Linked DNA regions of Homo sapiens: regions 2, 3, 4 and 5 are each linked to region 1. The links are contacts of gene promoters, found by promoter capture Hi-C in blood cells and fetal thymus (Javierre and others, 2016). All regions are on one chromosome and are shown on one strand. The core of a region is centred on a gene start or on the middle of the fragment in contact, and the rest is flanking DNA. Distances in the headings are between cores, read along the strand shown. Region 1 holds the start of STARD4-AS1 (STARD4 antisense RNA 1). Region 2 holds the start of TSLP (thymic stromal lymphopoietin). Region 3 overlaps NREP-AS1 (NREP antisense RNA 1). Region 4 has its middle 59 kb from the start of WDR36. Region 5 has its middle 22 kb from the start of NREP.

The links. The method cuts DNA at HindIII sites, captures the fragments that hold promoters and counts their contacts. A CHiCAGO score of 5 or more calls a contact.
Region 2: a contact is called between the fragment with the promoter of TSLP here and the fragment with the promoter of STARD4-AS1 in region 1, in 4 of 17 cell types (non-activated CD4 T cells, activated CD4 T cells, naive CD4 T cells and 1 more). The highest score is 8.4, in non-activated CD4 T cells.
Region 3: a fragment that was not itself captured here is called in contact with the fragment with the promoter of STARD4-AS1 in region 1 in 1 of 17 cell types (monocytes); the score reaches 5.1 in monocytes.
Region 4: a fragment that was not itself captured here is called in contact with the fragment with the promoter of STARD4-AS1 in region 1 in 1 of 17 cell types (non-activated CD4 T cells); the score reaches 5.5 in non-activated CD4 T cells.
Region 5: a contact is called between a fragment that was not itself captured here and the fragment with the promoter of STARD4-AS1 in region 1, in 3 of 17 cell types (megakaryocytes, M1 macrophages and monocytes). The highest score is 6.4, in megakaryocytes.

What each region holds. Positions count from the first base shown.
Region 1 is chr5:111,509,225-111,514,928 of GRCh38, reverse strand. STARD4-AS1 (STARD4 antisense RNA 1) reads right to left here and starts at 2,703. Exons shown (of 7, transcript NR_040093.1): 1 at 2,421-2,703. It overlaps STARD4 (StAR related lipid transfer domain containing 4), which reads left to right and starts at 2,394. Exons shown (of 6, transcript NM_139164.3): 1 at 2,394-2,544. RefSeq lists enhancers at 1,930-2,069, 2,550-2,759, 5,626-5,704 and a silencer at 2,150-2,519. The HindIII fragment of the contact is 3,364 bases long and covers 516-3,879 here.
Region 2 is chr5:111,068,870-111,074,573 of GRCh38, reverse strand. It overlaps TSLP (thymic stromal lymphopoietin), which reads right to left and starts at 2,861. Exons shown (of 4, transcript NM_033035.5): 1 at 2,513-2,861; 2 at 1,642-1,686; 3 at 929-1,063. The coding sequence starts at 2,683. The HindIII fragment of the contact is 3,260 bases long and covers 2,502-5,704 here.
Region 3 is chr5:111,937,687-111,943,390 of GRCh38, reverse strand. NREP-AS1 (NREP antisense RNA 1) reads right to left here. Exons shown (of 4, transcript NR_046678.1): 2 at 3,257-3,354. It also overlaps a transcript of NREP not described here. Among named protein-coding and RNA genes, the nearest start is that of NREP-AS1, 28 kb to the right of the region's middle. The HindIII fragment of the contact is 1,918 bases long and covers 1,656-3,573 here.
Region 4 is chr5:111,148,470-111,154,173 of GRCh38, reverse strand. No RefSeq gene overlaps it. Among named protein-coding and RNA genes, the nearest start is that of WDR36, 59 kb to the right of the region's middle. The HindIII fragment of the contact is 2,318 bases long and covers 2,283-4,600 here.
Region 5 is chr5:111,776,462-111,782,165 of GRCh38, reverse strand. It overlaps a transcript of NREP not described here. Among named protein-coding and RNA genes, the nearest start is that of NREP, 22 kb to the right of the region's middle. The HindIII fragment of the contact is 658 bases long and covers 2,970-3,627 here.

The sequences.
Region 1 (5,704 bases), core at 1,454-3,953:
TTTGGGGACAGATTTTTAGAAATTTTCAAGTAGTTGGGGATATTTGTGAGCGTGTTTTTGCTTTGCTTACTTCTAGATTTATTGCCCAGGTTAGAAATTGTGGATATATTATTTCTGTGTTTTGGAATTTTTAATGTTTTTCTTCTTGAAAATTCTTTCTTTAGATGTGTTACTATATTCAGTCAGATTATAGTCAGGACTTGGCAGGGCAGTTGTTTTGTCTCTTTAGGTTAAGTTTCCATTTAGCTGATCAAATTCATTATATGCCTCTTTTATATTTGAATTCTAGATGGAGACCTTATTTTCCCATTTTCAAACTATTTGTAGGGGAGATCTATCTGTTGTGTTACATACTACAGTTCTCTCATGTGTATAATGAAAATAGTAATAGTACATGCCTATTTTCAGGCATTGCTGTAAAATGTAAAATGCTTAGCACTGTGTTTGGACCATACTAAACCCTCAAAAATAGCTCCAGATGATGTATTTGTATATGTATTTCTGAATCTGAAGCTTTGCTGTTAGTAGCATTCCACTTTGATAGAGTGGCTTCCAATTACCCAAACTTCATTCTAACCAAGAAAAATGGCAACAGATGAAGAACAAAAGCAAAAGAAACAAAAACCTCCCAGAAACTGGCTGGAAGATAAGAAATCCCATGGGGGCATAAGTGTGATGTAATGACTCCCGCCGTCCAAAAAAAAAAAGCCAAGTTAATTTTGTTTTAAACATGTTTTACACCATCCTGCAAGAGAATATATAGACTGTTGAGCAAAGTATCCAGAACTGAATCCTAATAATGACAGATACAACTTTTTTACTTTTTTGAAATAGATACGTGGATTTATTCCTCTCCACCATTAAACCTGTGTAAACCCTCACAGTAGGAATTAGGCCTTTCATTTATGGTCCCAGTGGTCTTCACAGGTGCCTTGACAAAGAGCTACCAAGCACCATCTGAATTTTATGGAGACTAAGAGCCCAGTTTCAGAGTCCAGCAGACCTCAGCCAAATTCCAGTTTCTCCACTCAGTAATTAAGCAACCTGCCTTAAGATTTATGTCTGGGGCTCCTCGCCTGTAAAACACACCTACCTTAGGGGGCTGTTAAGAGGATTCAATGTAATTGAATTAAGTAGGTACAACTTAATTACAAAGCACTTTTCCCCAACCATTTCAAATTATTTATCTACGTATTCATCCATCCATCCAAAGCACCTCAATAATTGGCCAATAATTCCTAAGTGAAAGGAGCTTTACAACACACGAAGAACTCTTCTATTATGTCACACGAAATTATAAATATAAATATAAAACAAATTATTTTACATATAAACGATGGAGGTAAAAAATAAATCGGCCAATAATAACTAGCAAGTAGTATTTGGTAATTCTTTTGGTGAGGCCGACTTAAAAATTTACGAAATATTATTTATTTTCATTGCAAGTCTATCAGAAATCACTAATGGTGTAGCACTGCATTCTTCCCTGCTTTTGGTTCTCAAACTACGTATCTTAGTAAACGCAATTTGCAGACAAACCAAGCCTCGCTAATCAGTGCATCATGGCTACTCTGGTAAAGGAAGAAATTCACTGTTTGCCAAGCATCCCATCAGATGGGTGACTTCACAGCCACTGGAAGAAATCTTTCTCATGTTCGAGTAGATGGAAACTCCAAAACTGTGCAGTTGCTAAATCCACTTGTCACACCTCCTCCTTTTCTCTGCTTCTAAGGTTGCCCTCTAAACTCTTTATCTGAGGATGGAAACACACACACGCACCCACACACACCCACACCCACACACACACAAACGTATTTGGCTAAAGGTCAATTCACATAGTGGCAGGGACTTTCGTTTATATGCATTTTCCTTCCCAGCTCTCTCAGTTCTGAGTCAGGCTAAGCAGGAGGCAGAGAGCTCGTCCTCCTCTGCATGGGCGCTTTTTCTTATTTGACTTTTAGTCCTGGGAGGAGTAGCGTAGTTGCGAGATACTAGGATATCCACAAGCGGGATGAATTTGGACCTTATCCCTCACTGTGATCCTTCACTTCGCCTTCTGTTTCAATTTCTCCCAGTCGGTTTACTGCTTGACAAAATTCTTTCACAATTAAGTGATCACAGGACAACCCAACCCAACCAATCCAAACCTGCAGGCAACCCCAGACATCCAGGGAACCCTGGCGCGGCTCGGGCCAGCCCACACCCACGCGGAATCATTCCATTTATCGGCCACCAATCAGCCCTCCACACGCTCCCGCGCCAGCCAATCCGAACAAGCGCACGTTGTTCCGGCCACCTCCTCTCAGCCCCCCCTCCCCGGAGCCCCCGGGATCGGGCCAGGGGGCGGGGCTGGGGGCTCGGCCCGCCTTGCCCTGAGGCGCTGGGTGCCTTCCAGTTGGCTGCGACCAGCGGTGACTTACAAGTTGGCTGCTGTCGCCTGCGCATCGGCGGGCCGGGAGGCTGAGCAGTACTGTTGAGAGCGGTGTGAGGTGCTTGGTAGCGCGCCGTAGCTGCTTCCACGTCCTTGCTTCACCTCAGGTAAAGGTAAGGAGAGCCACGGAGCCGCGGCAGGATTGGGGTGGCCCGTGTGGAGGGCGACTGTGGCGCCCGGGGCGTCCTGCCAGGTGCGTCTTCTGGACCTGCTCCAGACCATGGATCTGGGGAGCTCGCGGTGGACGTTGGGGATGGCGGGCCCCGGCGTCCGGGCGGGAGAGGACCTCACAGATGAAAGAGAAACCTGAGCCCCTGGGAGGGGAAGCGGCGAGCTGGAAGGATCCCAGGGCTTGCAACTCGCCCCTGCGCGCCGCTCACCTATTTAAGTACTTGGAATCCATTAGACCTCAGTGTCCTCAGCTGTTAAATGGGAGAGGGGCGGTGGTAATCCCGCTTGATTTGGGACAGTCCTGTTCTTTGGAGGTCACCGCGCTTCCTGGTTCTTAGGAGGTGCACAGACAGCGCAGGGGCAGCCGCGTCCCACCAGGCTTCGCGGAGGTGATGCCAAAGACAAGAGACAAAGTTTTCCCAGGGCTTACTGCCTTCCAAGGTCCCTGCTAAATGTATTAACTCAAATAATTTCTCACCAAATCAGTGTCATTGTTTTCCCGAATTTACACTTGAGAAAGATTACCTTAGATTTTTAGGTTCAGCAGCCAGGACAAAACTTGACAAATATTTGGTGGGCCCAGGTTTTTTATATGAAGTCTTTTCCAGCCTGTGATCAGCTTCCACAGTTTTACAAGAGAGAGCTTTAGGCTCTGAAGTCAGACGCCCTGGGTTGGAATTCTGGCTCCATCACTTATGAACTGTGTGATCTTGGACAAGTGACTCAACCTTCCTGTTGCTATTTTCCCTTTCTGTAAAACAGGGAAAATGTATAGACATTAAGCTACTATTCTCACTTATGGAAGACCTCAAGATATCTAAAGTATGCCCATTTACACCAATCCTAGAGCTTCTGAATAACTAAAATTCCTTTACCATAATGAAACACATTTTCTCAAGGAGGACTATTACTGTTGTGAGGATTAAATAAAATAAATGCAATGTAAAGCAGCCAGAAGGACTGACCATGTAGTAAGTGATCAATAAATGTTATTGTTATTTTTTAAAATCAAGTACAGAGCATTAGGTTTTTTTTTTAATCAAGTATTAGAGCATTAGGGGTTTGAACAGTAAGTTGGCTCACTATTCATATTGTAGAAATATACTTCCATGTTGCATTTCTTTAAATAGTGAGCTCCTGCCAGAGCCAGTCTCAAAAAATGAGAAGCTGCTGTACTTGTCTGAGTTAGAAAACTTAACAGTTCAACATTGATTGGAAATCAAGCATATGCTGAAATTTTTATGTTAGTTAGAAAATATAATTTAATTTACAAAGCTTTGGTTTGTATGACATTGGGGAAAGTCCATGGCATGTTAAACTGAAGCTGTTGACGGAAGTGAAAACCATATTAATCAAGTAATGCAAGGTTAGACCGTTCTGATACCTGCATTTCTTTAACAAGTGAATTCTGACCTAGTCGTACTACAAAAGTCCAAACAGATTTTTATGGCATTCACTTTACATTACAGGTTAAATGTTTTATTATGTTCCATATTTAAAATAGAACCTATGCCATCTCACTGTGACAGATATTTGAGAATAATTGGAGTTGGATTGGTCAAGACTATGGTGCTGATAGATGGCCTCAAGAAAAGTAACTTGAGACAGCTGCCCTCCCTATGATGGCAGCCACTATCACCACTAGTGATAGCTTCAAAAGCATGGGCATAGAAAACATGAACAAAAAGATTAAAGGAAAAACATGGAGGTGGACATTACTCAGCATTTGGCCATGGGACTGACAAGAGTATAAAATCTTTTATATGAACCTATTATATTCTGATAAGGTTAAGTGGTGCCTGTTCTCTCTGACGTGTAAATGTTAGAGTTGGATAATTTCCTGATATAAGGTCAAGATAAGGGAATAAAAGACTGAATTAGTAAAAGGAAGTTCAGAATGGGTTCAGAATGGCATTTAAAACATTTACCTGACATTCTCCACAGTTGGAGATTGCAGGAGGGCAAATTAGGTGTTTTCCTCTCAATTAATGTCAGTACCCTGTTATATTAGGAGAGAGAGCCAAGACCTTGATAACCCATCTCCCCCAACCCTCTTGGTTCTAGAATATATTAATATTTTGAGAAATGCTCAATTATGCCTGTTTACACAGAGGTAGCAGTTTTGATGGCAATGATTATTTCATTATGGACTTAATCTTGATGAAAATAATCCATGCAAGACTTAACTGTTTGGTTAAATACATTGCTGGACATATTTAATCAGAGAGAGCTTTCTGATTTTGTACTTCTTTCTCTTCCTTTCCTACCTCCCACTGCACCACTCTTAAAAAGGCTATTAATAGAATTTTTTAATGTTTTAGTTTTTGTTGTTGTTATTTCTGTTAAAGCTTAAGGGTGGAATAAGTCAATTTGAGAGTAAAATCTGAATTCCATCTGTTTCTGTAGTTCTAGGACCTGGTATATAATAGATGCTTGATAAATATTTAATAGTAGTCCTTCTTGAGAAATGGTGTTTCATTATGGTAAAGGAAGTTTTAGTTATTCAGAAGCTCTAGGATTGGCGTAAATGGGCATACTTTAGATATCTTGAGGTCTTCCATAAGTGAGAATGGTAGCTTATTGTCTATACATTTTTCCATTTTTTATTCACTGTGTTCCTACTGAGTGCTAGACGTAAGGAGAATTAATATTGAACAAGCCAGATTTCCTACCCCCCAAAGATTTTACAGTTAAACGGGAGAAGATAACAAGTGAATAATTACAGTACAGAGTTGCTGTCAGAAAATATTGGAGGGGGAACTAACCCAGGTTCAGGGGAATCCAGGAAAGATAAGTGGAAATTAGGTAATGAAAATATGCCACATTATAAAAGGGCCTGTAAGCTATAGTAAGGAGCTTGAACTTTATACTGATCAGTATGAATTACTAAGTCAAGTACCTTAAAGTTGCAGATTCTCATCTCTTCTAGGTAGCTAGCTTTCTAGGTAACTTTCCGTGCACTGGATTTGCCCAGTGATAATGTTTGCTTATGATAATAATAACTTTCTGTTTCACCTTTGATTTCTATCAAAAAGTTTTGCATAAATACTCTTATCTGCCAACCACAGGAACCTAGCAGGTGACCTTTGGGTTTAAAGAATA
Region 2 (5,704 bases), core at 1,612-4,111, 440 kb after region 1:
ATAAGGAGCAATCAAACATATCTGCACTTGTCTCTCTCTGTTCCTTAAACTTGTCACCATGAAGATAAATCCTCTACTTGCTGACTGAAATAAATATTGAGTGCCTGTTGTGTACCAGGCACTGTTCCAACTGCATTTACATGTGTTGACTAATTTAATCCTCAGAAACAACCTGTATAAGACTAACTGATATGATACTTACTTTACCCATGAAGCTACAGTACACGGAGGCTAAGTAATTTAACTAAGTCTTCACAGAAGTTATAGGGCCAGGATTCAAAGTCAGGCAGGTTGTCTCCAGAGTTCCTGTGCCTAACTTTCCACTACACTATCTCCATATTTAATGCTACACGAGCATTCAAATGCAGATAACTACATGTGCAAAAATGTGTAAAGAGACAGCAATAGCGCCCACACAAGCAATTAAGCAAACATAGGATAGAGATTTTATGTATAATGTAATTATACATTTAGCAAATAAGCACACAATAATTAAGTGATAAGAACAAGAGGTGTTGCTCAAACTTTGGACTGGACAAGAATCTCTTAAGGAGCCCCATAATCTGAGATTTTAATGTTGAAGGTCTGGGTTGAGTACCTGGGAATTGGCATTTTTAGCAGCCATACTCTTATGCTCCAGCAATCAAAACATTCTGATATAGAAGTCTCACTCATCATAGCTTGAAACATTGCCCTAAGGTTTAGAACCATAATTCAGCCAAAACAGTATCAGAACCGTAGAAATAGGTGAGTTTGATTCCGGGTATCAACGTGGGTCTAACTGACATCCTACCACTTTTACCCGGCTCGTTTGCTCTTCGAAAGATAAAACCTAAATAAAAATAAGAGAACGACTTCTGCACCAAAGCCCCAGTTTAATTTGAGGTTAGCCCCAAGGTACAGCAAACGTCTGAGGCTTCGGGCTTACCTGAGTTTCCGAATAGCCTGGGCACCAGATAGCTAAGGCAGCCTTAGTTTTCATGGCGAACATTTCTTTGGCGAGCGACGCGCAGCCGGCGGTGGGATTGAAGGTTAGGCTCTGGATTTCAGTAAGGCAATGTGGCTGCTCATAGGCGGCAAAGTTTACGAGAAAAGGAGAAAACACCAGAGAGAGAAAGAGTTGGTGAGAATTGAGTGAAAGGGGAGGGGAGGAAGGTCAGGGAGGAGCGGGGAACACAAGTCGAGAGTCAGAGAGAAGAGGTCAGGGTTGAGTAGAGCAAGGAAGAACCAACCGCGGGGGAGCAGGGGCGTGGCGAGGGTGGCGGAGGGCACTCGTCGCGAAAAGACTGTCACCCACGCTCGCTCCTCCCAAGTCTCCAGGGGGCGGAGGCTGCCAAAATTCCGAGCCCGAGCGCGGAGGCGCCGGACCCCAGCAGGTGGTGCCCCTAACAACGTTCCCTCGTCCCAGTTCCCAATTTGCCTTTCCTCCGGATAGAGACTTCCTCTCCCTAAATTGGAACAGAAGTGTTGTCCCAAGCTAGGCGCAGCCCCGCTCTGACAGCCCAGATGTCCCCTTTCCCCCGGCGGCGGCGTCCCGGAGCCCAGGCACCTCTCGGAGTTCTGCACGTAGCAGGATACTCCCTCTCCAAAATGCCTGGCGTCTCCCTGGAGAAAGCCAGCAGCACTGAACTCTCTACTCACCCGATTGCTACAAGAGACGGTGTTGTTGAACTCGGTACTTTTGGTCTGGAAGAAAGAAAAATAGGACAAAGAGGGTAAAGACTTTTAAGTCCACAAGGAAAATCATCCCTCCACCCTTTGCTCCCAGGCTTTAAAGGTGCCCTGAAAACAGTTTCCACTCAGGTACCTTTTTCCTATGTCATTGACAAGGCAGTGAAATAGCCATTAGATAGTGCTGGTTAGTGCTTGAAACCACACCAAAAGGTTCAGGTCTCAGAGGGCGACCTCCCCCCTCCCTTCCCTCAAGCCATAACTGCACATAGCACTATGCTTGTGAGTAATAATGCCATCCTTTGGATGTCCGCATCTGTACTGTGGCCATTCATGAATGCAAACTCTGTCTAGAAATTAGGTTAATCAGGAAAATGATTACTACTGTATGTTAAAAAAAATTCCAAGTACACCATATTCTGTAATAAATAGCATCCTGAAACATCTAAAACACTGGAGAGACCTGGAGCACAGCATCAATCCTTAGAGTTTATCTCATGAGAATTATCTCTTTTACTCCTCTTTCTTAAGCTCTTACCTCCTGCTTTTTACAGCATAGTCAGAGTAACACTTTAGCAAAGGATAGACATCCTTTGACGCATAACGCGCTGTCTATCAATACCTGCTCCTCATCAGCATCTGCACACTTAGAATGTGCCAATTTCTAGATAATCATTTTAGATTAGATATTTGAATATCACTTGTAAGAATCCTTGACAAAATGTGGGGCCATGATTTTTTCTAAATTATTTTTCTTTCCTACAAAGTTAAATTGTAGAGTGTGTGTATGCCGACTCCTCTGATGAAAATACATTTGTTTTAAAAAAGCTTCTTCACTTACCCCACTCATATATGTAATCAGGTCTTTAGAAATAGTACTGAGATAGGCTGCTTTAATCTTCTCAAAGTCACAGTTAGTGAAGTCGTAAGTTAACACCAGCCCTACAAGTTGTAAGATGAAGATTTTCCTGAAAGAAACTGACAGAACATATAGTAAGGCAAAAGGGAACATACGTGGACACCCAATTCCACCCCAGTTTCACACTAAACTCTTCCCACCACGAGTGTAAGAGATCTGTAAGGCCTGCCTTAGGGGCCAGTGCTCAAGCACCAGGTTTTGCCTCTCATTGCCAGTCCACAGGAAGCCCTTATTCACCCATGCTGTTGCCTTAAGTTGGAGTCTCCCTGATGCTCCAGAGCTTTCTGGCTGCACTATATAACACCTAAACGCCTACGGGCTCTTTTCTCCTAGGCCAATGATTTTCTACCATGTCATTCTCTTCCTTTATAGAATTCTGAATTGATGATGTGAAAGGAAAAAAAAAAAGGAGTAGCTAAATCTATGGAATTTTAACATCAGTAAAGTCATCAGGAATTTCCCTCACCTTCCTCCTTTTTGCTTTGCCCTAAACACTTCATAAGTGTGAATGTCCTTTAAGAAACGGATACCAGTGTCTTTCTCCTACAGGGCATTTCCGTGACCAATCCTTTCTATTTGGGAGAAACACCTTCTGAAACCAGCAGCCACTGTAAGGATTTGGAGTCCTTGCATATGTCCCATGCATTCTGAACATCTTTGAGCATTTCCTGTGGCCACTTTCAACTAGTGCTTTCCCTTCTCCTTGGCTAGTAAGAAACTGTGCTTGCTTATGGGATGCTTTGGAGGGTGGGGTGCAGTCTCAGTCTTCGACAGCACTTCCATGTGAAAGCATTAAATGTGCAACCGTGACCAGAACCTTAGGGGCAGGAACGATAAGAGGTTGAAATAAGTGGGGAAAGATCTGATGTGGCTTGTTCTCAAAAACCCTACTTTTCAAATTTCCCATATCAATTTCAGGAAAAACGCCTACTCTTGGTGGCTAGGGGCACCTTAGGGGCTGAAGAGTCCTCTAGCACTTTCTAGCAGGTGTCAAGAACTTTTAAAACCACAAATTCCAGCGCCCAGCCACCTTCACAGTCCCACTCTTAAGGCCAGCGACACAAGAAGCGGAGCCAGACCGCGCTGCTGGGTGCCCAGCGGCGACCGCACGGAGACGATGCTGTCCTGAGCTCAGCTCTCCCGGAGGCGGCGCACGCTTTAGTGCGCTCTGCCTCGCAGAGGCTTAGCCCCGCGCAGCGTAGACTGGAAAACGTCTGTCACCTGGGGCCTCAGCCCGGGCACCAGTTTTAGAGACAGGAGAAGCATCGAGATGGCGGGCTCAGATTTTTACTAGCAAACTCTTGTTGATCCAGAAAAGAGCGCTTAAAAGCACAGCAAAGTGAGTCAGGGAGAGTGCCCTAGAGGATGTCTGTCTAGCAGTCTTCCCAGTTCCAGCAACACCAATGGAGGGTTGAAGGGAGGGAAAGGCCGACACCGATCAGGTTGCTGAGATGAACCCCCTGCTCCTCCCTGGCTTGGCTCATGCGGCCCTGGGCCCTCTCTACACCCAGGTCCCCTCTCTCTCTCTTTCCCTTCCGCTCCCCCGTCCATCGCACCCCTCACCCCCGCCCCCCGCCCTCGCGTGTCGGAGCCTGCATCGCTCTGGTCCTTGGGAAGTTCCTAGGAGTCATCGCTCGGAGAAAGGAGGTTGGACGCCGTGTGTGAGTCCCAGCAAATGTCACAGGCCATGCGGTGCCTGGGGAAAAGAGCAAGGAATGTCGAGGGATTCGGGAAAAGAGTAGGGGACAAACTGGAGCCAGAGTTGAACTCTTCTTCATAGAAGGCACTCGAGAGGGTCAGAAAACCTCTGATTCACCGCTGACTTCAAAAATGGCTCTTTTCTGGAATTCTTCATGTGTTGTACTCGAGTCACCACAGCATTCTTTGAAAAAAAAGTCCACTCTTCCCCCATCACCAACTTCTCAGGGTATTGTGGGATGATGCCAAAACCTGATTAATCTATTGTGACATCAGAGATTATTCTGGTCGGCAGCTGGACATTATTATATAGGCAGACAGGAGCTAAACTTAGATTTCTTCACTGGGCTGGGATAGCTCCAAGAGACAAAGGAAAGGGCATGGTGGCTGCTTCTGTCACCCTCACCTGACATGCCTTCCCCTCTAGTGGCTTGCTGTAGGGCCAGAGAGTGTGAGTGCCCACTAGAACCTTCGGCTTCATCTCTTGATTGCTGATGGGGGCAAGAACAACAGAAAGCAGCCTACACTGAGCTTCGACTTGCATTCTTCTGGAGGTATAACCAGGCTGCCTCCCTTTTTTTGTTTCCTCTTTTAAAAACCCCTTGTGTCTATGATCTATGTAGAGTCTTTGTTCAGATGAGGTAGGCAGGGTATCTCTTTCTAAGGCATCCCAGGTGTCTCTTTGTCTGTTAAAACATTGCTAAACACTTGTTCCTTTTGCCCCCAATTTCCTTATCTGTAATTATGTGACCTCTTAGATCACCTGGATTATATTACTTGTCTGCTCAAAAAGTTATGGCAAAACAACCTACTCAAGGTTGTTTTGAGATTACAATTATCCCTCCTGCGTTGGCTCCAAGCTGTCTTTCCAGCCCTATTTCCTTCATTTTCCTAGGCTTCCAGCAAACAGTATCTGAAGGTAATATGCTCTAAACATGCTCTGAGCTGTTTTCTTCCCAATCTGAGATGTTAGATTTTCATGTCTTGCCATGTTCATCTTATTTGATGTCTCCAAAAGTGGTCTCCTACCAGGATGTGACCTCATTATCCTGTAAGCCGTATCTATTTTGGACTTCTTTCTATGGCTTCTATAGATTACTTAACATTTCAATAATGTTTTTCAACCTTATCTCTCTATTAGATTGCGAGTTCTTTAAAAGTAGGTAATGTTTTATAGCAGTTCATTTGTTCACTATTTACCTTTCCAGTAGCATTTGAAGTGATTTGCAATAAATACATTGGTGTCAAAAGGTAAAAAAACAGTCAAGGTGAGACAAGAGAATGGAGCAAAGGAATAGGGCGGTTAGAATCAGGTGCAGGGAAGGCTATAGAAAAGCATTACTAAAAACTGGAGAATTATAACAATTGATCTCAAAAGTGAGTTTTGAGCTTCTAAACTGCCACTACAAGGGGTAG
Region 3 (5,704 bases), core at 1,365-3,864, 430 kb before region 1:
GGCTGGGGAAGGAATGCCAAGGAAGCCCAGCATTTAAGAGCAAGACAGAGAAGGCAAGGAAAATCAAGGCAGTATGTGCCTATGAGAGTTCAGGCAAGAAGATGTATAGGGAGTTCAATGTGTTTCACAATAGGCAGCATAACCGGCACCTGATGAATGCTCAAAAATGTTAGCTATTATTAATATGGAAATGACTAATAGCAGGCAGCTTTATTCATATAATATTGAACTTGCCAGAGGACAGAGTGGAGATGCAAAAGAGGAGCCAGTTGTCATAGCTGCCTAGAAAGCTGAAAATGGAAAAAAGGAAAGAGGACTACAGGAGACAGCAGTGATGAGATGGGAGCCACATATGTATAGGAGATCAAAGGGGAGAAAGGGGAGAGGATAATACTTTTAACCCCATTTATTGAGTGCTGCCTAGTGCCAGATGCTGTTCTTAGTGCTTTAACTGATTCAGTTTCAAAACAGCCTTACAATATAATTACTAGACTTAGTCACATTTTACAGTCAAGGAAACTGAGAAATGGACAGTTCCAGTAACTTGCCTAGTGTTGACTACTACTATGAGATGAATACAGGATTTGACCTCAGGCATTCTGACTTTTGAGTCCATGTTCTTAATCTCTTTTATGTACAGCCTCTTAATTATATGGGTGATGACAGTAAAATATTTTGACCAAATCTGGAGTATAAAACTCTATTTTCAAGGGTTTTTTAGTATCATTATCTGATGCTGTTTTTTTTTAAAACTAGTGCTTTAGAAGTCTTTAAAGAAGAATATCAACTTCTATATCATTTCAGATTTCTTTGCAATTATTTTGTACCCTGTCCCTGATTTTCAGTCTTGAGTCACACTTGCTGCTATTTGATAGCACAAACTGCTTTGCAATGAAAAAAAGACACCTGCAATGTTGCAGATGTAGTTAGTATGATGCAGGCAAGACACCAGGAAGAGCAAAAGCGCCTATTTTAGGGACTGTTTTTAAGCCGCACCAGGGAACCAAAGCAATGACTGCATCACATGTGACCATGACTTTCACTTTTCAGATGGAAAGGCGACTCTCATGAGATTTTTTTAAGTGAGAAAATTCAGAATATGAATCATTTTTATTTTAGTGTTATTTGGTGTCATTCGAAATAAAAATATTAAAAAATATAAACATTTTATGGTAAGCATCAGGATTGAAATTTTATTAACAAATAGCAATTAAATCCTGGCTAACAATGTTTGCTAAGATGGTTACCATAAGAAAATAACTTTTGTGAAGCTAAGTTAATATAACTGTTTTTATGGTAATAAAATGATGTCTCATGGAATCGATCTTTGAGACAAGTACTCTTACCACAAAAGCAAAACAAAACAAAAATTAGTTCTGCTATCCTACAAAATGTTGTACTGAATTTACCAAAAATCTAATTCAGAGTCCACACACGGTGTTAAAAATGCAGGCTAAGAAGTAGTGAGTATATTATTGTGGTGATATAACACATAGACATGTCTAGGAAGGAAGACATAGTTGTAAATAAGCTAGAATCTATTTAGAGGATAACAGAATGTAGATTTACATTCCTTTGGTGGGATTATGTTAGGTCAGCCTCTCAATTGGTTTTAAAACAGATATGGCATGCTCTGGTCCAGAAACATTGAAGCTTTTATTATCAATCCCATTCCTAGATGTCCTGTCTGAAATGCTAATATTAATAATAGGCTTGCATTCATCAAATGTAAAAGTGTTAGGAGCAGAACTATGTCATCCCCAAAATTTATATGTTAAAATCCTAACCCCCTAATACTTCAGAATGTGACTCTATTTGGAGACAGGCTGTTTACAGAGCCTGTTACAGTGCAGTTTACTGCACACTGTTTACAGTGCGCAGAGGAGGACACAAACAGGTACAGAGGAAAGACCATGTGAAGATGTGGAGAAGACAGCCATCTACAAGCCAATGAGAGAGGCCTCAGAAGAAATCAATTCTGCTGACACCTTGATCTTGGAATTGTAGCCTCCAGAACTATAAGAAATAAATTTCTGTTGTGTAAGCCACTCAGTCTGTGGTACTTTGTAATGGCAGCTTGAGCAAACTAAAACAAAAAGGTGTGATGTTGGGCTTTCACCCAGGTTTTATACTCTAGATTATAACAAGATAATTAAATAACCAGAAAAATGACTGATTAATAACTTCCCATATGATCTTCATCAGTTTCTTCCTTTGCAATTGAATGCCTATTTACAATTCCTTTGTGAAAGAAAAGTTTGATGTCCATTTATTTCTTGGTAACCCAGAGATTTCTGGGATCCCATAGTTATTCTGTGGTTTCTCCCAGCAACAACCTTAAAGCAAGAATCAGGGTTTGCTCCCTACCCCAAAAAAGAAATGTGTTTTATAAAACATAAATGTACTTTGTGGATTTTACTGAAGACTTATTGAAGACATTATATGACATATCCATACCCAGAAATCTCGACCTTGCCCTATGTGCCTCTCCCTTTGGCTGATTTTTAATCTGTATCCTTTCACTGTACTATAACCAAAAGTATAATGGTTTTATTGTGTCCTCTGAGTCCTTCTAGTGAATTTTGGGGCATGAGTGTGGTCTCAGGGACCCTCAAACTTGCAGTGAGTACCAGAAGTGAGAGTGGCCTTGGGCAACTCCAAACTTGCATTAGGTTTCAGAAGTGAGGGTGGACCTGGGTACTCCTAATGTTTGCATGAGGTCACCTGCCTCTCTTCTCTGTCTTCAGAGTCGGGGCCCATCCCTATAATTGTGACTCCCCTCCACTAGGACAGAGTAGTTGGGTGATGAGTGGTGTGTGGTAGAGAAAGGCATGCCTACTTTAGCTCTTCTCTCCAACGTTTTTGCCAGTTGGAAGGGATGGGAGATATGTGTCTACTGAATTCTCTTTCTGTGGACCTGGAACATGGCAGACAGACAGACACTTTGATCTCCTTGCCAGTACGACTTCATGTCTGCTGTAGTTTGGAGTAGCAGAGAGAAGGCAACAACTTCCTGGTTGTCTTCTGAACTGTACTTTGATAATCAGTAGGTAGAAAAGAGAGGGAACAGTATTTCAAGAACTGTTTTTGTTTTATCTTTTATCCCTATCCTTAAACTATATTTTGTTTTTGGTATTTCGTAGTCTTTTTTCAGGTAAGGTATATTAGGCATCTTTATTTATCACAAAAGGCTATCACAGTGTTTCCCTTTATGTAAGGAGTAAATTGAAGGAATAGTTTTGTTTTGACAACTTACTGTGCTATTCTTGTAGAGTGGCTAGCAGTGGTAATTTTTCTTTGAATGCAGTAATTCAGATTGGGATGTACACTTGATTCTTCTTCTTCACTGTAAATCTGTAAAGTTTCCATGAACGCCAAGTTAATTGAACATTGAATGATTACTCCCACAGGAAATAAAGAGTCAGATTCCTATAAGCCTGTGATAACAGTATTTTTGTCAGCTGATCAAAACATAACCTTGTCTTATATGTGTTTCTTTTTAAAGATAACGTATTTAATATGTATCATTGATTCATTAACTTTGGACTCATGGCCAACAGCATGGATGAAGCTTATCCATTTTCTCCATAAGGCACATAGCAGCCCTCTTGTGCTCAGGAACACTAGATAGAGTTTCTGTATTACACTTGGGGACCATTTTAAACAGCAAAATCACCAACAAAAAGCACAAAAATTCAAATAACGTGGTACTAAATAGATCATGAAAAGGACACTTGTTTACGGTAAGAGCTGAAACAAAGAGGTAGAATATTGCCTTGTTTGACCTCAGCTGTGCACTTGCACGTGCGGCAACTCGAATTTTTTTTTGCCACACTGTGCTAATGACCACTAATGATCACAGACATGCTGCAAATACTGATTTCAGGGTTACAAATAAATTTAAGTGAGTAGGCAACTTCCCAAATATGGAATCCACAAATAATGAGGATTTCCCAGACTGTAATGTCTGGGAAAAAATGCTGATTGCTCTAAAGTATCTTTAAAAGGGAAATTGATGCTTTGGTTATGATGTCCTGGCTCTGCCAGAAATGATAGCTCCTTGTATTTTTCCTACTCCATCATTCCAGAGGAGACAGGATCAGAATCTCTGCCCCTTGAGCCTACTTTTTGCATCAGATGTTTGCTGTGAGAAGTAATGAGTCTTGTAAAGGAATGTGGTTCATTTGCTAGGAGGTGTTCCATGCTGGAAGATGTGAGGCTCCATGGACTGTTTGTCAGGAATAAAAGTAGTCGTAGGGAGAGGGTAGAAAAAGGAAGGAAGACCAAGAGCAAGGGGGACGGTAATTTCTAGGCATGATTAACAGCAACAAAAAATCTATCTGTGAGTCTATCCTAGATAGATTATGAGTAAGATACTAAGTAAGATCAGAGTCTCTCCAGTAATCGATGGACTGATCCAGGTTGCTTTTCCAGCTACTACAAGCCATAATGGCAGGGTTACATTCTTTTCATCCAGTAAGAAAACTACTTTATGTTTGTTACAAAGTAGTCATTATCTATCTTAATTGCTTGTCAAAAGGTTTTGAGAGTGTTGTTAGAGTTCATGGGTGATCTCTGAGCTGCTGACTGCAGTATACTAAGCTGTTGATCAAGAACAATAATGGTAGCTAGTATTCACCAGCTTTTTATGCCCTAAGTTCTGTTCCCAGTACTTTACACGTACGAAGGCATTTAAAGTTTACAATAGGCCTTTGAGGTTGGAAATGATATTATCCCCAACATGATATTATCCCCGGCATAGGTTCGGTAACTTGTTCTAGAGGTCACACATACAGTAAGTGACCGATCTGAAATGCAAACTAGGCCATGTCATCTGCCTACAGAGTCCATACTCTGATACCATCAGCCATTACACCATACTGATTTTTCTCAAGGAGAAAATGAATCTTGAAATTTTAGTTTAAGTTTCACTTGCCTGGATGCAAAGATTGATTTTAAATTGAGGAGCATACTCTTATCATGAAATAAAATAAAAATAGGATGCAATTGTTGACAATAAATCTGGGTAGTTTTGGCTTATAAAATGTTTATCTAAATTGTGTTCAGTAATTTGGTGATCCATCTGATGACTTTATTAAATAGATAGGATAACTGGAAAAGGAAAGTAAGAATCAGCCTTTGTATAACAGAAACAAACTATGAGTGAGGGAATGGAGCTCCCAGAGAGGAGTGCAGCAGGGGGCAGAAGTCCAGTGCCCTGGGTGAGCATGGCCAGGAAGAGTGTGTTACTATGAGAACTCATAGACCAAAGCTGGAGTCACTGGTAATCTTAGAAGGACTGGATGGACACAGGGCCAGAGGAAACCCTGAGGGAAAGCTGAGCCAGAATGGAGTCAAGGCAGAGAGGCAGACACTGAGGTTAGATTACAAGAGCAAGACAGAGCAGGCAGAAATGGGTGCAAACGTCAGCACAAGGAGAATTTGGAGAGGACTAAGAAGTCAAGAGCAGGCATAAGTTGGAGGTCAGCTTTGGCCAACCTAACTTTGAATCAGGTGACCAGGTAAATTGGAGTCATGGACTGTTGGGTCCAGTACCCTGTGAGATTATGTGGGTGACAGGCTGCTGCCCACTCAAATGCTGAGTTACCTGGTGGGACAGGAAGAGGGAAGGATCTGGTACAAGAATGAGAAGTAGAGAAGCCTGGAAAAGTACCCTTTAAAGGAGTTCAAAGGAGTTGGGGAC
Region 4 (5,704 bases), core at 2,192-4,691, 360 kb after region 1:
GCTTTGGAGAGAGGAAACTTGCTTGGGGCAGTTCCATAATATGAAAGTCGTAAGTACCTAGGGAAGAAAGAGGCATGTAAATACGTGTAATAAACTGATGCATGTGTAAAATTCTCTTGGCCTTTATCCTACAGAAATTAAATATTTAATATGAATTTTCTGAATGTAAGATTATGGACCGTTTTTTATACTATGGCCTAATTTTAAAGGCCCAAAATAATATTTTTTTAAGTTTGCCCTTGTGCTGAACTACCAGTGTATGTATGTTATACTTGATTTGGTTGTAAACTATATTTCAAAGTAAACCCTAGTGTAATAAGCTTTATAACCAAAAAGGTTTAGGCTGCTGAACCATTGTTTTTAAGAGATATAAAATGCAGCAGGGGACTATTCTTTTTCCTTCTCTAAGCCCAGAGAAGAACTACTAAGTGGTACCTCCAACCTCAAATATTTGTTTTGGCTTTTATCAAGACTTGCAACCTATGATACAAAGATAGTTTATATACGGTGCCAGTGGTGTTTGTTTTTTATTTGGTCAAGAGTAAGGGTAACCCAGGGGGCCACTTATGCAAAAGATATAAACTCTTGCATAATACATTGATAACATGTTTTACCAATCTCAAGGGTAAATGCTAAATATAAGTTAACCAAATAGCAAGTTAAAAGAAAAAAGGTGTGAGGGTCAATTTAATATTTCCAATTGTTAATGTTCTGTTTTCCAATTTTTCATCTTTTGTGATGTTTATGAGCAGACGGCTAAGTTGTATTTCTCCGAATACATTCAGATAAAATAATATTGCCCAAGTAAAATATTAATATCCTAAAGACAAGTTTATATGATACTTAATGTACATAACATGAATTTGAAGCATAAAATTAAAATAATAAAATTGTTTTACCCCCCAAAAAAAGAAATATCCAACATCAAATGATTAATCAATTAATAAAGAAATAACGGAGCCCCCACATTTCACCCACAGAAATGAGTTGTGGAAGCTGTGCAGTCCTGAAAGGTTATCCTCTCCGTGTCTCTTTTTGAGTGGCCACAGAGAGTAATAAACAACAGGACCCTAGCAAATTTGGCTAGCCAAGAAATTTATTTCACTGCTAGAGTAGGGAGTCCTTATTGTTCCTGCCTGGCAATAATTGGTTGATATGTGCTAATGTGGGCCAGTGCCTGCTATGTTTCTTGTTCTTCCTTTTTTCAAACAAAGACTTATAACCTCCCTTTAACCTTATTGCTCGACAGATAATGAGGAGCCACTTCGAGACCTGATGAAAATCAGAAAGCACATTACAAAAGATCCTATCTTTGAAGTGAATGAAATAACTGGATGAGACAATGGTGTGGTATTTCTCAGGGAGAAGCTGGAGAAGGTAGTCTATTTATGAGAGGAAGAGTGTGTATGAATATTACAAAGCCAAAGGGGTAGAATGTGGTAGAAGCCACTAGTTTTTTACCCAATAAACTTTCTCCTTTTATTTCTTATTAATGGAATCCCAATTTTGTTAAAATCAGCAATGTGCTCAAGAGCTGGGGATATGGTGACTGATCAGTTTTCCCTTTTTATGTTAACTGCAAGATGGCTTAGAACTAAGTTTGGAGCTCGTCTTTAGCCAGGAAGTCTCTGTGATGTGCAGTATTGTAACAGCCCCATTCCTAGTTACAGCTTATCTTTCCACTCATGATTTCCATTTTTCTTTTTCACCTATTTTCATAAATACTATTTTGCTATACTTACTTATCCCATCAAACCACCTTAAAACATTTAAAAATCAACCATGTAGAAAGAGCAGCAAGGAAAGCCAACAGAAATAAAGAGAAGGAGGAGAGAAAGAGAAAGAGAAGGAAGGAAGGAAGGAAAGAAAGAAGGAAGGAAGGAAAAGAAAAGAAAAGAAAAAGAAAGGAAGGAAAGAAAGAATGAAAATAATGGGAGAAAGAGAGGAAGAAAATAGAGAAGAGAGGAAGAAATGAAAAAGAAAGAAAGAAAACGAAAGAGAAAGAAGGAAAGAAAGGAGGAAGGAAGGAAGGGAAAGAGAGAAAGAAAAAGGGTGACATAAAAAGGGAAGAAGGAAAGAAAGGGAAAGCAAAGGACGTAAAACCTACAGTTTGAAACTTGCAGGTCTAAACCTACAAAAGGAAGATAAATGTCATTACTACTGATGACTTAAGAATTACACAACATGATTTGTAGAGAAAGGCTAATAAAAGATGTAAGGCATTACAAAGGAATACAAAGATAAAATTAATTGTCTGAAGTATGTGCTTGTAGTTCCAAGCTTTTGAAATATTCTTTCTCTCAGTTTCTGGTGGCATGTAGGAAATACTTTGATGCATGATAGCCTGTAAGCACACCATCAGGCAAGCTATTCCAGGGACAACTCCCCCCACCCACAGTGTCACTTGCCAGGTAACCTGATGAGCAGCTGTGGTTCATGCCATTCTCCTGCTTCAGCCTCCCAAGTAGCTGGGACTACAGGTGCCAGCCACCACGCCCAGCTAATTTTTTGTATTTTTAGTAGAGACAGGGTTTCACCGTGTTAGCCAGGATGGTCTCGATCTCCCGACCTCGTGATCCGCCCGCCTCGGCTTCCCAAAGTGCTGGTATTACAGGCGTGAGCCACCGCGCCCGGCCCTAAGGTATTTCTTTATAGCAATATGAGAACAAACTAATACAACTACTAATACACACAACAACATAGATGAACCTGAAAACATTATGTTGAATGAAAAAAGCTAGACACAAAAAAACTACACACCATATAATGTTATGTACATGAAGTCCAAGAACAGCCAACAGTAATCTGCAGTTAAAAAAATCCACGCAGTGGTTGTTTCTGAGGTGAGTATGTGGAGGGTAGGGGAACTGACCAGAAAGGGGCAAAAGAGAACATACTGGGGTGATGGAAATGCTTTGATAGTTTCATGAATATTTACCATTGTCAAATTTTGTTGACCTGAACACTTAATATTACATTGTGATATTTGTAAATTAAACTTCAAGAAGAAAAGTTAGAAAGGAAAATAAAGGGCTATCACAGATGTGGGTGACAGACTTGCCAACACTTTCCCTAAGTTAAGGATCCTGAAGTTTCAATTACCTTCTTGAAAACTGAGCAGACTGTAGCCAAATAATCCATTTCTGGCTGGCTGCAATTTTTTTCCATTGGAAGTAATGTGAAGAATAGGTCTCAGGAAGTCATTTTCCAAAGAATTCAATATTCCTGAATATAGTAAGGAGTGTTGGGCACTATAGGAGATCAAAGCCAGTAATTAATGAGTCTTGCTCTCCATTAGCCAGGCTCTTTGATACACTTCCAAAACGAACAGGTCTAGAAGGCAATTGGATGCGAATTTTTCACAGTCTTTTCTATGAAGGTAACGTGTCAGCAAAAGGGTTCTCCAGTTAATGAGAAAATTAATAGGACATTTTATTTATCTGTGCAAGTACAGACCTTACCCCAGTGAGAAGAAGAAGAGCCTGCCAGTACTAAATAACCCCAGATGGGATACTCCAGTGTTTATATGATGTTCAAAAATAGTCTTGTTTATTATTAATGATACTGTACCAGTTTCCTTAAGTGGAATGGGCTTTGGAGTCAGAAAGTCTGTCTACCAATAACTAGATAGACATCTTGGCCAAACCACCTTCAAACTACTTCACTTCTCTGAAGTAATTGGAGAATTCAATGAGATAATTTTTTTGGAATGACCAAATGAGATCAAATAAATGTAAATTGTGAGATAAGATTATTTCTTAACTTGTTCTTAGAGATCTGCTTGCCTAACACATATGTGGAAGGACAATTTTGATTTCCTTTTAAGGTAAAGACTTCCTCAGAAACATAATGGAGTTGTCAGTAAATTATTTTACCATTCTATCAGGTGACTTGCTTCTCTAATATCATAACTATGTAGAAAATATCAAAATCTTTGCAAGCATTAGGGAAGAATAAGAAATTCAAACATTTGAATGATTTTTAAGTACTGCTAAATTATTGTTTCCCATTAGAAGTGTATGACTCTTCATCGAATGGTAGTACTGGGATATGGTACTTTTGCTGGCGTAGGAGAAGGGTAGAGTCAAGGTAGGAAGTGGTTGCTTACTGCATGGGTCCTCAGCATTACAGCAAGGATGGAGAAATATATCATCACACTAGTCAGCTGTCAGAGGAGGAAGTTGGGCATGTTAGCAGATTTGAGATACCTTTAAAGTTATAAAGTCCTATTCATTTTCTAATAGCTCCTGTCAAGGCTTTTATACATGTGAGAGGTTGAGGTCTCTGATATAATATGATTATCCTACCTTCCTCCATTCTGATAACAATCAATGAAACCCATGAACATTGCATATGCAGTACCATGGATTAATTAAAAACTGAAGTAATGCTTAAAGCTACTGCATCTATACACAGACAAGAGCTCCCCTGGACTTCATCCATTTGGCTAATTCTGATGCTGGGCTTTTTAAAGCAGACAATATATGTGAATTTTTATCATTGCATAAATTGAGAGCAGTGACTCTCAGAATGGATCAGTGTTGAGGGTATTTGTGTTCCATCTGAGTGTCACCAAAGGGCATCCTCTGCATAGGAAGCTTCCAATAATCAAGTGGACAAGATGACACATTTTGTAGATATCAGTAGGCCTCTTTCCCTAGACACCCTGGTGCTTGCATGAAATGTCCATATACAAAATAGGTATGGTGGCAATGATGAAGGTAATGCATAGCCTTTTTTAAAAAAAGTGCATAAGTTGGTCTGTCTACTGCTGAGTGCATTTCCTATGCACAAGACAGACTAATGCTGAACCCCTGATATTCCAGCCCTTCTTCACTGTTTTGTGGTGGGCAGGTCTATGCAAACCTACTGTAAAGTGTGAGGAAGCTGAGAGACCAAAGAAAGGGGCTGACAAATACAGTTTCTCAGAAAGAAGCATTTGTCTAGGTGCAGTGGGTCATGCCTGCCATCCTAGCACTTTGGAAGGCAGAGCTGAGCGGATCACCCAAGCCCAGGAGTTCAAGACCAACCTGGGAAACATGGCAAAACCCTGTCTCTACAAAAATACAAAAAATTAGCTGGGGATCCTTGTGCATGCCTGTGGTCCTAGCTACTCAGGAGGCTGAGGTGGGAGGGTCACCTGAGCCTGGGAGGTCGCAGCTGCAGAGAGCCATTAACCTGCCACTGCACTCCAGCCTGGGTGACAGAATAAGACCCTGTCTCAAAAAGAAAAAAAAAAAGAAAGAAAGAAAGGAAAGAAAGAAAGAAAGAGAGAGAGAAGGAAGGAAAGGAAGACATTTAATAGGGACTTAGGAACAGAAGACATGTCTGTGTCTTGGGAAGCAGCAAGACAAGCTGGTAGATCCCCATGCATTGCCCACCAGACCTAGGGGTTTATATACCACAGGGAAGGAATGTGTCCTACACATTCAGAAGGCATGTGTAGGACAATTCAAGTATGATAACATCAAGGTTGTTTGACATAGGTGCAGGATTTATGGTAATTACCTGCTCTTACACAAGGAACAATAGATAACTGGAAATCTTAGAAACCTCACTGTAACAGGGGTTGATCGAAGCCAACATAGCAGATTAGCTTTCAAGTTGGAGTTGCTTCAGCCTCCACACTGAGAGAACCAGCCAGCCACCTGATGGCAGGTTGATTACACTGGACCTTTGTTATCACAAGTGAGGACAGCAATTT
Region 5 (5,704 bases), core at 2,049-4,548, 270 kb before region 1:
TTGGAGTACTACAATAATCACAGCTACCATTTATTAAGCCATTAGCTAGTATTAGGTGCTATGCTAAGCATATTATTAATGACATTTCTAGAATGTTTATTTTGTACCAGACACAAAGCTAAACACTTTACATACATTTTCTCTGTAAATCCTTATCATTATAAACATAATTAGCCTCATTTTACAAATGAAGAAACTGAGGCAAAAACCAGAGTAAATTTTTAATCACATGGTTAGTAAATAGCTGAATCAGTGTGTCAAGCCACTTGTTTTCTCATTGGCTATCCTTGAAGTTTGACTTTTTATTCCTGAAAGATGAACCAATTTCTTCCCCACCTCCCCTTGGCCCCGATAGCCTTTGTCTTTCAGGCTAAAGAACCCTTGAAGTACAAAGAATAGTACTTGAAATCTAAAAAGTGCCATGAAAACAGATATGACCCAAGTCTTTAAGCTTTAAATAGAATTAGTCCAAATTTCATCACAAAGTTGTTATTTTTTCCAAAGATCCTGGAAGTGAGGATGTATTATTTATTTAATGTAGCATAACAAATTATCCTAAACTGTGGAGGCTTAAAGCAATAATTATTTACCATTTCCCACAGTTTGTCTTGAGTCAGGAATTCAGTCAGGATACAGTAGAGATGGCCTGCCTGTGCTGCCTGATGTATGGGCTCTCAGCTGCAAAACTCCAAGACTGGGAACTAGAATCGTCAGAAGGCTTTTGCTTGCCCACATTTTTAGTGGTTAATGCTGGCTGGGTGCCCATCTGGGGCTGCTGGTCAGAATACAAACACGTGGCCTTTCCATGTTGCATGGACTTCCTCACGTAGGGGTGGCACTGTTCGAAGAGCAGGCATCGTGAGAGGAAGCAAGAAAGAGCCAGACAGAAGCCATGTTACCTTTTTGACCGAGCCTCAGAAACCATGCAGCCTCACTTATACCCCATTCTATTGGTCAAGGCTCTTACAAAGATCTACAAGGTTCAAACAGACACTGGGGCCTATCAGAAGTGGAGGGTGGGAGGAGGCAGAGGATCAGGAAAAGTAACCAATGAGTACTAGGCTTAATACCTGGATGGCAAAATAATCTATACCACAAACCCCTATGACACAAGTTGACCTATATAAAAAACCCTTGAACTTAAAGTTTTTTAAGAAAAGATGTTGTTTGTTAAAAATGAAATAATCTATATAACAAACCCCTATGACACAAGTTTACCTACATTACAAACCTGCACATATACCCCTGAACTTAAAATAAACGTTAAAAAAAATGTGGGAAGGAACATAGACTCTATTTCTTGATGGCAATGTGTCAACTTCACATTGGAAAAAGAGCATATGGGATAGGGGTTATATATTGGCGTGGCCTTCTTTGCAATGTAGAAATTGCTGCAAAAAGCAATAGTGAGGATTTAAAAGATTTCCAAATCACCTATGACTATTAGCTCCTGCTTTTTCTGTTAGTTTCATTAGTGAATTGTCTAACTGTGCTTCATATTATTTCCCTATTCTCTACCACTCAAAACAAGATTTGAAATCCAGTCTCCTTCCATGATTTACATACACAATGAAATACACTCCCCACCAAACATATACTAGCAAATAAAAATACTCCTTCAAGTCGGTTACACTGACTTGACTGATGTTTGCAGCAATGAGTGGGATTTACATTGTAGCCAAATAACTTAGAATATTGAAAACCCCTAATTTAAAAAGCTCTATGACTCTTTCCTGTGTTCCAGAGCTTTCCTCTCTCCCTGTTTCCCTCTATTTTCTTATCTGCCTCTTCTCTCACAGTAGCAAAAACTTTAAATACCTTTCATTTTCTTATGCAAAATAATTCAGTTTAGCTCTGCTAAATCTCCATACACCATACTCAGTGCATAGACTCTTTTTAAATCCAAAGTCCCACTAATGTATTCTGCTAAACCAAATGCCATCTAAATCTGAGGGTCACTCTTGCTTCCTACTCCATCTCTTTCTGCAAGAGAAAGGAACAGTGAAGAGATTTATTCCTCCAATTAAATAAATTATGCCCCATTCCCACCCCCGTGTTCTCCACGGGAAGGCAGAAGTTGCTCTGTTCAGTTGTGGTTTAAAATGACAATTTCCCCCTCTGCATTGCACTAGCGTGCATTGGATCACGGCCAGCACTATCCACTTAAGTTTTCCATCTCTGATTTCCAAAGCATTCAGGGAAAGCCTCAGCCTCAGACATTATGAATATGCCTAAGAACAGAACTTCTGAGGCAAAAATAAAAATAATAAAAAATCACAATTTAATCAAGAGAGAGCCCTCAAGTACCCATTTAATAGGTAAGCTATGTTCTTGTCCTCTCTCATACTGTACAATTCAGCATCTGATTGAGTTGCCTTTCCAAAGCCTACTGTTAAGTCCTATAAACTTTCAGAAATGGATTGACCCAGGAGAAGCCTTTATAGAAACATCTAAATATGAAAGATATACTCTCTGAATAGTCTCTAGCCAGATTCTGGAAGAATATTGGTTCTCACGGGCAAGCCATAATACAAATTCCCACTTGTTTCTCCACAGTCATGTCCTCACTACTGCCCTTACCCCCTTTCTTGGAGAGTTTGACCTAAGCCTCTCCTCCTGGTTCTCATAGCTCCAGTGAATGGGAGGGCACATGTGACATCACATACCTGTTTATGGCTAAATGAATCATGGTAACTAATCCAATTAGATTGTTTTCCTGGGGCAATGAGCTAAGACTAACAGACAGTAGCTAAAATAGTCTGAGCAGAGCAGAGCAAACCTCCCGGCAGAGACAGAAGCACAAAGCAGGTGCAGAGCTGTGTGACAGGATGCACACTGGCGTCTAGAGCTGGGAAAAGAAGTGAAGTTCCAGAAAGCCATCTAGTTCCTGCTTCCAACCCCTTAGGAGGTCTGGATGCACCCCTTGCTTTCTGGCTTGCTGAGATAGCCCAACAACACAGCAATAAGCTTATCTTAATGCATCAGCTAGTTTGTAGCCAAGTGAACAGAAATTATTCTACATGGGATGGGAGAAAGAAAAATAGGAATGTATTTTAATTTCTTTTCATATATTTCAAATAAATTTTCAAATAAGTTTATGTACTCTTTTTTGGGTATATATGTTAAGTAGGGAAGACTCATATATCAAGGAGTTTCAATAAAGTATGATTGCAACGTAAAGGTTGCTACAAGATGTTCTTCTATGATATTCGAGGACCATTAAAAAAATAAAACATACTTTAGTACTGAATGAAATGTCATGGTGAACTTCTTATCCTTGGTAACCAAAGAACTTGCTTAAAAAATCATCGTATGCTGTTGAAGTATCTCTGAAGATATTTTACATGTAGTAACCTCTGTATAGTGAATTTTATTTGAGGGGGCTTCATAGGAGAGCTTTGCAAGATGTTAAAGAATATGCTGTTTGTCAACTTTCTGAAGAAATCTCTGCTTTTTAGGGCCTCACAGCCAAACAAACAAACACAAACAAACTTGTAAAGCAATACTGAAAAATATGTGCCCATTCCAAGAAATGGAGTGAAATACATTAGCAAATTAAGAAATGTAATGGAGTGTGGGAAAAGCCTACATCACAATTAAATAAGGACTTTGACTCCATGTAAAGCTTCATGTATAACTCTTTATATAAGGAATTCATACTACTGACAATTGGCCATGAAATAGACAAAAAGGACATGGTTTAGAGGACAAGAAGTAGGCCCCACACTCACTAACTGTTAAGCACACTACTTAAACCCAGTGAGCCTCTGTTTCCTCACTCGTAGTGAGGATGACAACATTATTTACCTCAATGGGATGTTGTGGACATTTAACACTATGATGCATATAAAGCACTTGGCACGTGCATTGATGTTGTCAATAAATCTCAGACCACTTGTAGCAGTAATTTTTGTTATCTGCATTATTACAAATGTATCTGGATATTCTAGGGCAATTCTCTTAGCATATGAAGAGTTTGATGTGCTGGCTGGAGATTGGCAAGCAACTTGCCTCTGCTTGACAAGACCACTCCCACTTCTGATGTGTGCCTGTGTGTATGCATTAAATTGTTCTGTACTAAATCCTATGATTTCTGCCACCAGGTATCAGTTTCTTGGGCTTTCTTTAGCTTGTTCTACGTACAGGCAAAACAGAGAAGTTGTTTTGATATTTTGCTGTTTAACATTTCAAATTACCAGCAAAACAATGAAATTCCTGGACCTCCCATACCCTATTTATCTCAATCAGCAACCTATTTCATGTGAGCCATCACACAGGCAATCAGAGCACAATTGGACTAGATGGGGAAAGTGATGGGACCTACTAGGAGAATACAATTGGGACCTGGCCATACTTTAGTTATACAAAGTATAACTGTGATACATTTCCCTTGTTTTCTCCACACCTATAATTTCTAGAACTTTGCCAGTCTTAAACTATGCACCATGCCCTCAAAAACGTTGCTTTTTCTTCCTTAGATCACTCAAAGTTACATAAACAGCATTTTGGACTTAAAAATTGAGCTCAAAACACTCTTGTTACTGAATACCACAAATATACACATAATGGTTAATGTGCAACTACACTGAAGCATTGTCGTATTTACTCCTAGATGTCTCACCTCTCTAACATTCCCAATGTATCATTTAGGGAGAAATTTGTGTGTTTTTACATGCACGCAGTACACAATTTAAATTGTAACATAGGTCACACACTGAAAAGTGAGCTACCCGGTTTCCTCTCCAGAGACAACTACTGTTAGATTCTCATAATAAATACGTACTTAAAACACACACACACACACACACACTCACACACACACCCACACCACACACTGTAGCAAACATAAACATTCTCAGTGAGAGTTCCTTGCGAGAATTAAATTCTCATACTCTAAGTCATCCATTGTATGTAATAAATTGGCTTTTCTTCTAGGCATCAGGAATGATATTAATTATGTACCATCCATAGAAGAATTGAGGAAATAGTTACAAATAATGGTTCTGTGAGCTGTGGTTCAAATGAGGAACTCTAGTTGAGAAATACTTTCACTTAACAATCTAGCTTGGAGATTATTTATATGGGTACATATATAGCTGCTCTCCTCTTCTTCCTCCTCCTCCTCCTCCACCTCCTTCCTCCTCCTCCTCCACCTCCTTCCTCCTCCTCCTCCTCATCCTTTTTCTTATTTTTCCTTCTTTACTTTTTCATTGAGGTATAACCTAAATTAGAAAGTGTATATAGTGCACCAATCTTAAGTATATCATAAGGTAACACATGACCAATTTTATATATTTATATACCTTTGTAAACACCATTCAGATCATGATATAGAATATTTCCATCACTTTAGAATGGTCTTCCATGCCCCAGGGCAAATCTCTAGTCTAACTTCTATCACTACAGTTAGTTTTGCCTGTTTTGGAGCTTCACATAAATGAAACCACATTTGTATCTTCCTTCTTTCCTTCAACATGTCAGAGTGATTTTCCATGTTGTAGTGTAAACTGATGTTTCCATCAGCTTATTCTTTTTGTTGTTGTCTATTATTCCATTGTATGAATCGACGACTATTTATTCATTCTCTTGTTGATGGACATATGGAATGTTTCCAGTTAAGGGCTATTTTGAAAAAATCTGCAATGAACAGACTTGCGCATGTCTTTTGGTGGATATATGCATTTATTTCTCATACACCTAGGAG